2 separate regions of the Homo sapiens genome follow, and region 2 is linked to region 1. The links are contacts of gene promoters, found by promoter capture Hi-C in blood cells and fetal thymus (Javierre and others, 2016). All regions are on one chromosome and are shown on one strand. Each heading gives the region's core, a stretch centred on a gene start or on the middle of the fragment in contact. The rest is flanking DNA. Distances are from core to core; before and after follow the strand shown.

The links. The method cuts DNA at HindIII sites, captures the fragments that hold promoters and counts their contacts. A CHiCAGO score of 5 or more calls a contact.
Region 2: a fragment that was not itself captured here is called in contact with the fragment with the promoter of IL20 in region 1 in 1 of 17 cell types (activated CD4 T cells); the score reaches 6.9 in activated CD4 T cells.

The regions. Positions count from the first base shown.
Region 1 is chr1:206,862,055-206,867,191 of GRCh38, forward strand. IL20 (interleukin 20) reads left to right here and starts at 3,569. Exons shown (of 6, transcript NM_018724.4): 1 at 3,569-3,632; 2 at 3,769-3,957; 3 at 4,245-4,310; 4 at 4,430-4,582. The coding sequence starts at 3,799. The HindIII fragment of the contact is 6,531 bases long and covers 2,728-5,137 here.
Region 2 is chr1:206,487,563-206,492,822 of GRCh38, forward strand. It overlaps IKBKE (inhibitor of nuclear factor kappa B kinase subunit epsilon), which reads left to right. Exons shown (of 22, transcript NM_014002.4): 16 at 352-428; 17 at 3,257-3,296; 18 at 4,086-4,187. It overlaps IKBKE-AS1 (IKBKE antisense RNA 1), which reads right to left. Exons shown (of 2, transcript NR_172918.1): 2 at 3,554-5,260. Among named protein-coding and RNA genes, the nearest start is that of IKBKE-AS1, 7.5 kb to the right of the region's middle. The HindIII fragment of the contact is 1,057 bases long and covers 2,762-3,818 here.

The sequences.
Region 1 (5,137 bases), core at 2,319-4,818:
GGGTGGTGGGCACCTGTAGTCCCAGCTACACGGGAGGCTGAGGGAGGAGAATGGCATGAACCTGGCAAGTGGAGCTTGCAGTGAGCCGAGATCGCACCACTGTACTCCAGCCTGGGCGACAGAGTGAGACCTGTCTCAAAAAAAAAAAAAAAAAGATTTGGGATTGTGTGTGAATACTAAGTTTAATTAATCATTACAGGTAACTTAAAACAATGCAATTGGGTTCTTCTTGGTTAATGAAAAGGAATTGACTGACATGACTGGCTTATACAAGCCTAGATTTACTGAAAATCTTGATTTCAACTATTCTCATCAGACCACATCTCCCGATTTTACTTTAATCACACTTATATATGATCATGAGAAATGGTTAACTTGGCACCAATGATGGAAAAATAGGCATGAGCTTAAATAGTTTAAGAGATATTTAGATTAGATATTTGTACATATTTTCAACATTTATCAAGCATTACAATAAAAAGCCATGGTCTTTATTTTCAGGAAACTTTAAGAAGATATCAAAAGATGTTGAAAAGAACATTCTGATCCAAAAGGTAGAAACACAAAGAGTCATTGAATGTCAGAACAGGAAAAGACCTTACACACTGTTTAGTCTGTTTCTCTCATTTTACAGATTTGTAAACTGAGATCCAGAAAGACACAATCATATGCCAAAGTCATACTGTAATGTGGAGTCTTTGGACTCAAATATAAGACTTCAGAATTTTAGATATTTAATTTTTAATAAGTTGATAAAGAACATATGATAGTCTCTACCATCTTTATGTTTCCAAGGCGTTGTCTATAATTCATCCCAGGTTCTTTGAATTTAATTTTGTCTGGGAGCATGGTCCTACATGATGGACTAGTCCCAGCCTAAAAAATTTTCCAGTGTTATTAGGGAGAAAAGACCAAGTTCCATGAAACACAGGACAACATTAGATGCTTTCACTGCCAAAGAAAAATCTGCTATTGGAAGTCAGAGAAGGGAGGGATTGGTATAGCCCAGAGTTGTTCAGGAATAAAGGATTTGGGTTTCATCTTTAATGATGACTAGAGGGAAGGGTGGCCATGTTGGAGAGCAATGGTGGGGATAGCAAGGGCTGAGGAAAAACAGCAGGAATGAGCCCACAGTGTCTGGAGTTGTGGAGAAACTTGGTTAAGGGGAACTGGGTTTAGAGGAGAGAGCAGGAGAATCCCCCAGAATTCTCTTCCAGTTCAGTAACTCAGATCTTCTCTATCCATCATTTTATCAAGCAGGAAGGTGGAGCCAGAAGGAGGCACATCCTTTATCCACAGCTACAACCAGTAATCCCCTCAGGCAGTGCTTCTTCCAGGAGGAAGGTGTTGGGGTAATCTGTCCTGCAATTAAGCTGCTGTAGTGCTTGAGGAAGAACAATGCCACCAGAGAAATTCCAAGGGAGTTCCAGCCCTCACCTGCCTGAGCTCACTTCCTTCATGTGACATGTATATACAGATATAAATAATGGGAAGCCTTTCAACTTGAAACAGGCTCCTAGGAGACCAGAAGCAGCAGCCTTTCCTGAGCTCAGGTAAGAGATCTTACCCTCTACTGACACTGCTCACGTTGTTGTGAGGATCACCTACTTCTCCTAATCATTTACCCAGGTATGTTCAAGGTCACATCTAAAGGACCCTTTTCCACGAGGACAAAATCTCTTTGAGGACAAATAATCATCATGTTTATCTTTGTACTTCAGTACCTAGCACAACATTCAAGACAGCGGGTGCTCATTAAATGCTCATCAAATTGTTAGTTCAGGACAACTAACATCAATCTCTACTTAAAATGAATTGATCACTTGCTCTGTGCTAAGTGTATAAATCATAGATTATTGTATTTAAATAATCGATTTAAAATCAAAACAATTTCTGGGTTAAGTTTAATTATCACCATTTTGGGGTTAAGAAAATTAAACTCAGAGGTGAGTTGACTTGTCCAAGGTCACATAGAGGTAGGGTGGCCAACTCATTCCAGTTTACCTGTGGTTTTTCCAGTTTTAAAACTGAAATTTTCGTATTTCAGGAACCATTCCCTGCCCCCCAACCTCAGTGCTGGGTAAACTGGAATGACCCACATCAATGGAAACTAGTAAAGCGAGGATTTATTTGGACCCAGTTCTCTTGTCTCCAAACCCAGAGTCCTCTTTGATTCTTTTGGGTTTGGTTTGCTTTTTTCCTTTTCCTACATTTGACAGTATCTCGAGTGGTCACAAATGTAAAAAATGTCTAGCATATTGCCTGGCATATAGGAAAAATTCAGTAAGTGATAATGATTATCAGTGCTGTGCCAAGCTATGGAGCCAGCCATATATATATGGATGTGTGCATATATATATATGATGTGTGTGTATATATATATGTCTTTATAAATTTTATGTATTTATTTCTTTCAAAAATATTAAAGTATTTGAGAAAATTGAAAAATTAAAAAGTAGGTTTATTACGACTCATGACTTTAAGTTTAAATATTTTATTTCTGCCCCAAACAAAATTTATTATAATTTTACTGTCCTGGTTTTAAGGGAAGGAAACTCATCAATAATATTTTCATCATATGCTTTTGAGAAACAAAGTTAACCATTAAGAATGAAACATGAAAACATGTGAATAGTGGTACAAATTTTTCCTTTTGCTTCAATATGGCTCAGCATGGCACTGTCGAATTTTGTCTTTATATAAAATTTTGATATTTTGTTTGTCATAAGCTTTTTAATTCATTTTGATATTGCACTAAAATATTTTTATCTTGATGACTGAGGTTTTTTAGTGCTCCCTTAAATTTTGCACCTAAAATGAGTGCCTCAATTGTTTTACCCTAACCTCAGCCCATTATTATTTTATCTTAAAACTCAGCAAACACCCTAACCTGCTCTCTTACTGAGGAGGCTCGCCCAAGAATAAATGAGTTCCGTCATTGCCTTTCTTCTCTGACTTTTGGGACCATTTGCTTGGTCTAGGACCTGAGTTGCAGGTCCAGGAAAGCGTGTACTCTCGAATCCACCCAGGAGTGCCTGACTACAGTCCTCCTGCAGAGGGCGCTGTGGAGTCCCAGACACGAGTGTTAGGTGGAATCGGGCTGATTGCCCATCACGTCTTGCCTTTCCCTGGCAGTAGGCTTGTTATGAAATCATTGACTTTCTATTTGCCTCTGGGGCTTAAGCGAATCTGTTACCCTCAAATAACCTATCTGATCTCAGACAAATGCCAAACAGAGCTCAGTTTCTCTGCCCTGTGGGTGGCCATAAAATCCAGACAATTTCCCCCTAGGTGTTTTCGATGGCGCAGCCACAGCTTCTGTGAGATTCGATTTCTCCCCAGTTCCCCTGTGGGTCTGAGGGGACCAGAAGGGTGAGCTACGTTGGCTTTCTGGAAGGGGAGGCTATATGCGTCAATTCCCCAAAACAAGTTTTGACATTTCCCCTGAAATGTCATTCTCTATCTATTCACTGCAAGTGCCTGCTGTTCCAGGCCTTACCTGCTGGGCACTAACGGCGGAGCCAGGATGGGGACAGAATAAAGGAGCCACGACCTGTGCCACCAACTCGCACTCAGACTCTGAACTCAGACCTGAAATCTTCTCTTCACGGGAGGCTTGGCAGTTTTTCTTAGTAAGTTGCGTGGATGGGCCACACTGTCTGAGGCCAGATAAGGCTGTTCTCTTCCCCTGACCCCCCACCCCTCACCCCGTGGACACTTGGAGGAGGGGAAACTCAGTAAGTCATGCTCTCTTCTTTGAATTCCTAGCTCCTGTGGTCTCCAGATTTCAGGCCTAAGATGAAAGCCTCTAGTCTTGCCTTCAGCCTTCTCTCTGCTGCGTTTTATCTCCTATGGACTCCTTCCACTGGACTGAAGACACTCAATTTGGGAAGCTGTGTGATCGCCACAAACCTTCAGGAAATACGAAATGGATTTTCTGAGATACGGGGCAGTGTGGTACGTAAGCGGGTATCTACCTCTCCTGAAAGCCTTTTCTCTTCCTTCCTTGTCCGTTTCTCTTTCCTGGCAGTACTGGCAGTGTAATCATAAAAAGAGGCAGGCTGGGGATTCCTTACCCGGGGGATGTATTCCAAAGAAATAACTGTAGTTCAAATATTTAAAATGTTTTGGGAAAGGACACCTCCCACTAGTTCTTGGCAGGGAGTGGATGAGAAGTCTTGATATTGAAGACCCTGGCAGCAGGCACTGACTCATCCTTGCTTGTTTTGTCTTCTTCTGTTTAGCAAGCCAAAGATGGAAACATTGACATCAGAATCTTAAGGAGGACTGAGTCTTTGCAAGACACAAAGGTATGTGCTTGGCCCAGACAAACTCTGGGAGGAGGAGTGGAGTGGGAGCATCTCCATCACCCTGGTCTTGTCTCTGCTCTCCCCTTTCCCCTCACCAATATACCTGTGGTTTTTTGCAGCCTGCGAATCGATGCTGCCTCCTGCGCCATTTGCTAAGACTCTATCTGGACAGGGTATTTAAAAACTACCAGACCCCTGACCATTATACTCTCCGGAAGATCAGCAGCCTCGCCAATTCCTTTCTTACCATCAAGAAGGACCTCCGGCTCTGTGTGAGTGTGGGTCTTGGGTGACAGGATGCATCTCAGCACACAGCTTCAATGGCTTAGCAACTAAACTCTCTTTCCTACCTCCATTTAATGGATGGAGAAACTGAGTCCAAAAGTTCTAATAATCTGTGTTGAGACATGTGACTAGGTAATAAGAACTCAGTTTTATTGACTTTTCGGTATATGCTCTAGGCAAAAAGTACTTTGCAAAGTCTAAAGAACTATAAGATGCTAACTATTTGATATTAATGATAACTCTGTTGTCTTTGAAATTATACTTTTTCTGTAGGTGAGGTATCCTACAGTATATTAGTGCGTCCTCTGTCTAGGCAGTCAATTAGTAGACCATTGAGCTTGACCTCAGAATATAGTCTGAATAGGACCTAGGAATTCAATTCTTTTTTTTTTTTTTCTCATGGGGGCTCAAAGAGCTCTGGGATAGAGCTCCTAGACTACAGCTGGGGGTTGTGGGGAGGCCAGATGGGGTACGGGGATGGCAAATGCCTTCAGTACTGCCTGCCTATTTCTAAAAAAGAAGTGATGAGTTCCATGTTTGAG
Region 2 (5,260 bases), core at 2,040-4,539, 370 kb before region 1:
CTAGGCTCCTTCCCAGGGCCTAGTCTCACAACTTCTCAGGTAGTAAAGGCCACGTTCCTGTTGCCCGTCCTGCTTGGCTTCCTGTCTCTCTTATCTCCTACTTAACTCATGCTGCGAGTGCATGTGTGTGAGAGAGGAAGAATAAGCCATGAGAACGAGAGACGGCTGGCTGACTGTACGGGGTCTCAAATAAGCCTAGAGACGGGACAGCCACCTCCACTCCCAGACTGATCCCCCAAAACTGTGGCTGTGAGGCTCCTCCCCTATTCCACTGCCACCCTTCCCCTCCCTCCCTCTTTCCTCTGTGCTATTAGATTCTTCCAACACCTGGTCCCTGTCTCCTGCCCACAGCATCCAGCAGATTCAGTGCTGTTTGGACAAGATGAACTTCATCTACAAACAGTTCAAGAAGTCTAGGATGAGGCCAGGTGAGCCCGGGGAGGGCAGATGCCCCTTCTCTCTCCTCTGTCTCCCTTCTTTCGCCTTTCTTCCTTTTCACTGGTGCTACCAGTGGCCACTAACCTCCAGCTAAGTGGCCGCTAACCTCCAGCTGGTGGTTCTTGGAGGCCCACTAAGCGGATGGTTCTGTGCAGCTGCTCTAGGGGCAAGGCCCCTGTCTGCAAGCTGCCTGCAGGCCAGTGGGGGACATGAAACCTTTACATGCCTGCCTGTTGCCACATGAGAGACTTGGATCACATGGTTGGGGGATCCAGTGGGCCGGGACCTGGGTGCTGTAGGAGAGGTGGTCCTGGAAAGAGATCTCGCACCTTGGCAGGGCACTTTAAAGTATAGAATGTCACTATCCGTTGTGTCCTTGGGACACTGAGACAGTCAGGTTTTCCAGAAAAGGGGGGGTCAGGAGAAGTCCCATTTTGAGTCACTGGGTCAGGCATTTTGGCTGCTTGATCCATTAATCCTCACAAGGATGCTGTGGCAGGGGCAGCCCATTTACAGGCTCGGGGGTGGGAAGCTGCTTGTCCAAAGTGACTGCCATTGTGGGGTAGTGCAAGGGTGGGACCCAGGGAGGGCTGGTGAGGGGGTTGGAGGGAGCCTGCGGAGGCTCCAGTTGACTCCTCAGGTTGGGGAACTAACACACCAGGAACCAAACCTCCCCCTCCTCTCCCAGGCCCCAAGCATTTCCTAATCTGTAGGCTGAAGGTCTTGGGCTTTATTGCCAAATTCTCTTCTCTCCTTGGGATTATCTAAAAACCACTGTCCAATAGAAATATAATGCCAGACACGTATGTAATTCTAAGTCTTCTAGTAGCCAATTTTTAAAAAGTAGAAAGAAACAAGTGAAATTAATTTTAATGTGTTATTCAACCCAATATATCCAGTGTCATTTTAGCGTGTAATCAATATAAACAAAATCACTAAGGAAATACCTTATATTCTTTTTGTGTTATCTTCAAAATCCCACGTGTATATATACACATAAATATATAACTTATTTCCTTAGCAATTCTGTTTATATTGATTACATGCTAATATATATATTTGAGACAGGGCCTTTGTCACCCAGGCAGGAGTACAATGGCATGATCACTGCTCACTGTCGCCTCAACCTCCTGGGCTCAAGCCATCCTCCCATCTCAGGCTCCTGACTAGCTGGGACTACAGGATGCTTTCCCATCACTTCATTGTTTTATATTTCACATATATATATATAATTCATATATATATTATTCACATATATATATTATTCATATATATATTATTCACATATATATAACATTTATAACACATCTCTATTGGGAAACTAAATTTTATATATGTGTGTATATGTGTGTGTGTGTGTGTGTGTGTGTATATATATATATATATATATATATATATATACACACACACACATACATGGAGCTGTGTGCAGTGGCTCATGTCTGTAATCTCAGCACTTTGGAAAACTGAAGCGGGAGGATCACTTGGGCCCAGGAGTTCAAGACCAGCCTGGGCAACATAGCAAGACCCCGTCTCTACAAAAAATAAACAAAACTAGCTGGACGTGGGCATGCGCCTGTAGTCCTAACTACTTGGGAGGCTGAGGTGGGAGGATCACCTGAGCCTGGGAGCTGGGAGTTCGAGACTGCAGTGAGCTAAGATCACACCACTGCAGCACTCCAGCCAGGGCAAGAGCGAGACCCTGTCTCAAACAACAACAATAACAAAACCTCTAGGCATCATTACCCTCCCCATTTTATAGATGAGAAAACCAAGACACAGAAAGGTTAAGTAGCCCAAGTAATCTAGGTCCAGCTGCTTTTAACTATCCCATTTTACAGCCTCAAAGGAGTTTTACTTCTATTGGTCTTTAAGAGTCCTTTAATAAAATTAAAAATGAACCCCTAACTGTTAAAACCCAGCGTGTTGAAAGATACCATTTTTTAAAATGCCCGGTGGTCTTCAGGCTCTCTCGCATGAGCCTCACGGGACTCCCAAGTGGCACCTGTGATGGATAAGGAGACAGGCTCAGCGAAGTGAAATCACTCGCCTAGTGCCGCCTGCCAACAGGAGGAAGGGCTGAGGTTTGTCCCAGGTCTCTCGGACTGCACACATGCTCTTAGCTGGCCGAGTGCAGGGCCCAGGAGGGGGACTCTGCTATGAGAGGAGTGGGATGGGGAGGCCCTCGAAGTGAACCGCCATCATCATTTCATCTTGGGGCTGCCGCCACCCTGGAGGCCCATTCCTGCGAAGACCAGGAGGGGGCAGCATCTCCCTAGTGCATGAGCCTTAGGGCCCTTCAGGAGGCAGCCAAGGCCATGAAAGCTTCAGCCTTTCTGGCAAAAGTGGCTGGGCAGAGCGGGGAGGTAGAAGGTGGTGGCCTGATTTCTCCAGCTCGTTGCAGGTAGCGCCCATGAACATTCAGGGATGGGACCACCCAGCTGCAGGCATCAGTCACTCTGGGAGGGTGCTGGATAAGGGGCTATGGTTGACCGAGCCTCCTTCTAAGCCCACTTCATCCACCAACTCCCACCTGAAGCATCCCCCACGTCCCCACCCCGGCCCTGCACTGCAGGCTGCCTTCCCCTGGGGCCCTCACACAATTTCCCCATGGCTTCTTGAGGCCCTGGCTTTGTCCTAATCAGCTATTCCGGTGCTAGCTTCACTCCTCTGCCCCTCCTGCTCCGCTGGGCGGTGAGTTCCCGTGAAGCAGCACAGGCTGGGCCGTCTTCATCTTTTAACTGTCTCTCGACCTTTGCTGCACACTGTTTCGTTGACTGATTGAATAGGTGACATCTGTTCTGTCTGTTTCCTCCAGGGCTTGGCTACAACGAGGAGCAGATTCACAAGCTGGATAAGTGAGTGGCCTGTCCTCCGGCAGGTGGGTGGGCAGGAGGGTGGGTGTCCTCAGGGCAGAGCGATTCTCAACGCCAGAGGAGAGGCAGTGAAGGGCCCTGTCCCGGACTGCAGCTGAGCAGAGTTGGGGATAACAGGTTATCTGGGGCCAGGGGAGGGAGTATGCATAGCTTAGTTGGAGGGAGACTTCTCAGATGCAATCTTGAAGTAACTGGATTTACTTCTGGTATGGACAAGACTGTTTGCAGGCTTTTTTTTTCTCTAGTTGTCCTCACTGATGCACCACTTACCACTTCCTGCTTCTGCCCTCTGCCTGAACCTTCCCTGCCTCCCCCCGCTCCTCTGTCTCCCATGTTTCCCGGACACACTCACGTCCAGGAGGCCCTCCCTGATTTAATGGTTATCTGGGAACTCACTCCCCCAGTTCTACAAGCACCCCGACCCCTTTTTGTCTCACACACACACGCACTCACACACCTTCTTTCCACGGCTGCCTCACTTTCCCTTCCCTTTCCTGAGGACTAAGCTTGAGCACATGTGTGTTCCCTGAGGACCCCCTGTGTGTCTCCCACGTCTCCCTGTTGATGTGGGCTTTGCTGGCCACTGCAACCTTCACAATCCAAGTGTGTGACCGTCCTTCCTCCTTTCCCAGAGACATAGCCCTGCTGTGGACGCAGGGCTTGGGCACTTACGACAAGGTGGTGACGGAGACTGACGGAGACTGAGGGATGGTGGGCTTGTGCATAGTGGTTCTGGCAGCTCATCTGCACCTTGGTTCTCTGTCGTTCTAGGGTGAATTTCAGTCATTTAGCCAAAAGACTCCTGCAGGTGTTCCAGGAGGAGTGCGTGCAGAAGTATCAAGCGTCCTTAGTCACACACGGCAAGAGGATGAGGTAACAGCCCCTCCTGAGCTCCTGGAGCCCAGGGCCTGGCCTGGCCCTTCTAGGCTTCAGAGGACCCAGGGCTTTGTGGAGCCCTGAGGCAGAGGGAGGAGTGAGTGAAGGGGTGTGAGCAGAGGAGTGGTTTTCTGTCCCTGGGTGGACCAGGCAGTTGGCTGGGAGATTTCTGTAGCTCAGCTTATTTACTCCTACAACACCTGCCCTATACAGTAGATATCATCACCCTATTTCCTAGGTGAGGAAACTGAGGCTCTGAGAACAGGTCTCCTCTGCACATCACATGGCTAGTAAGTGGCAGACCCAAGACTCGTATGTGGCTCTGCCTGCCTCTACAATCTAGATTCTTCAGGGCTTTTGAGGGGTAAAATCAAATCAAATCTGGATTCTTTCTACCGTTCCACCTGGTTATATTGAGAAGTCTCCTTTAGGAGAACACTAGGTGCCCCTGGGATAAGGACAGTGGCAGTGGCCCTTAAGTAGAACCTTCTGTCACACTGTCCCCTTCAGGAGTTTTGGGTTCCGCCTTCTCAGATCAGGCCCACTCTCCATCCCCTGCCTGTGTGAACACTGGCCCCTCCTGAGAAGAGAGGACAATTTCCCACGTGCTACCACATTCTGAGGCCTGTAGGACCTCACCTTGTTATGGGGCTGAGACCTTGGCACTCACCCGTCCTCATATCAGAATACCAATGCCTGCTTCTTCTACTCCAACCCACCACACATTCTGGTGTAATTGCTCTGGAGCAGGGCTTGGATGTCAGTGTAGTACAGCTTCTCCAGGTGATTCTAATGTGTGGCGAGGGCTGACCTCCAACCCCTGATTTAACAGCTCTGGGCCTTGGGGAAAATGTTCCTGTTCCTTCACTCCACTTAGAGATAGAAGAGAATTCACACTGGAAATGAGAGCGTGGGCAGTTCCCCACACTGAGAGCCCTGGTGTGGGCTATCCTCTGCCTCTCTGCAGCCTGACTGGTGCCACGCTCACCATAGGTGGCATGCGTCACCCAGCCCCAGCCACATGCATGTTGTTGGTGCTCCACACTACGGCTCTGAAGGGGGCCTCCCAG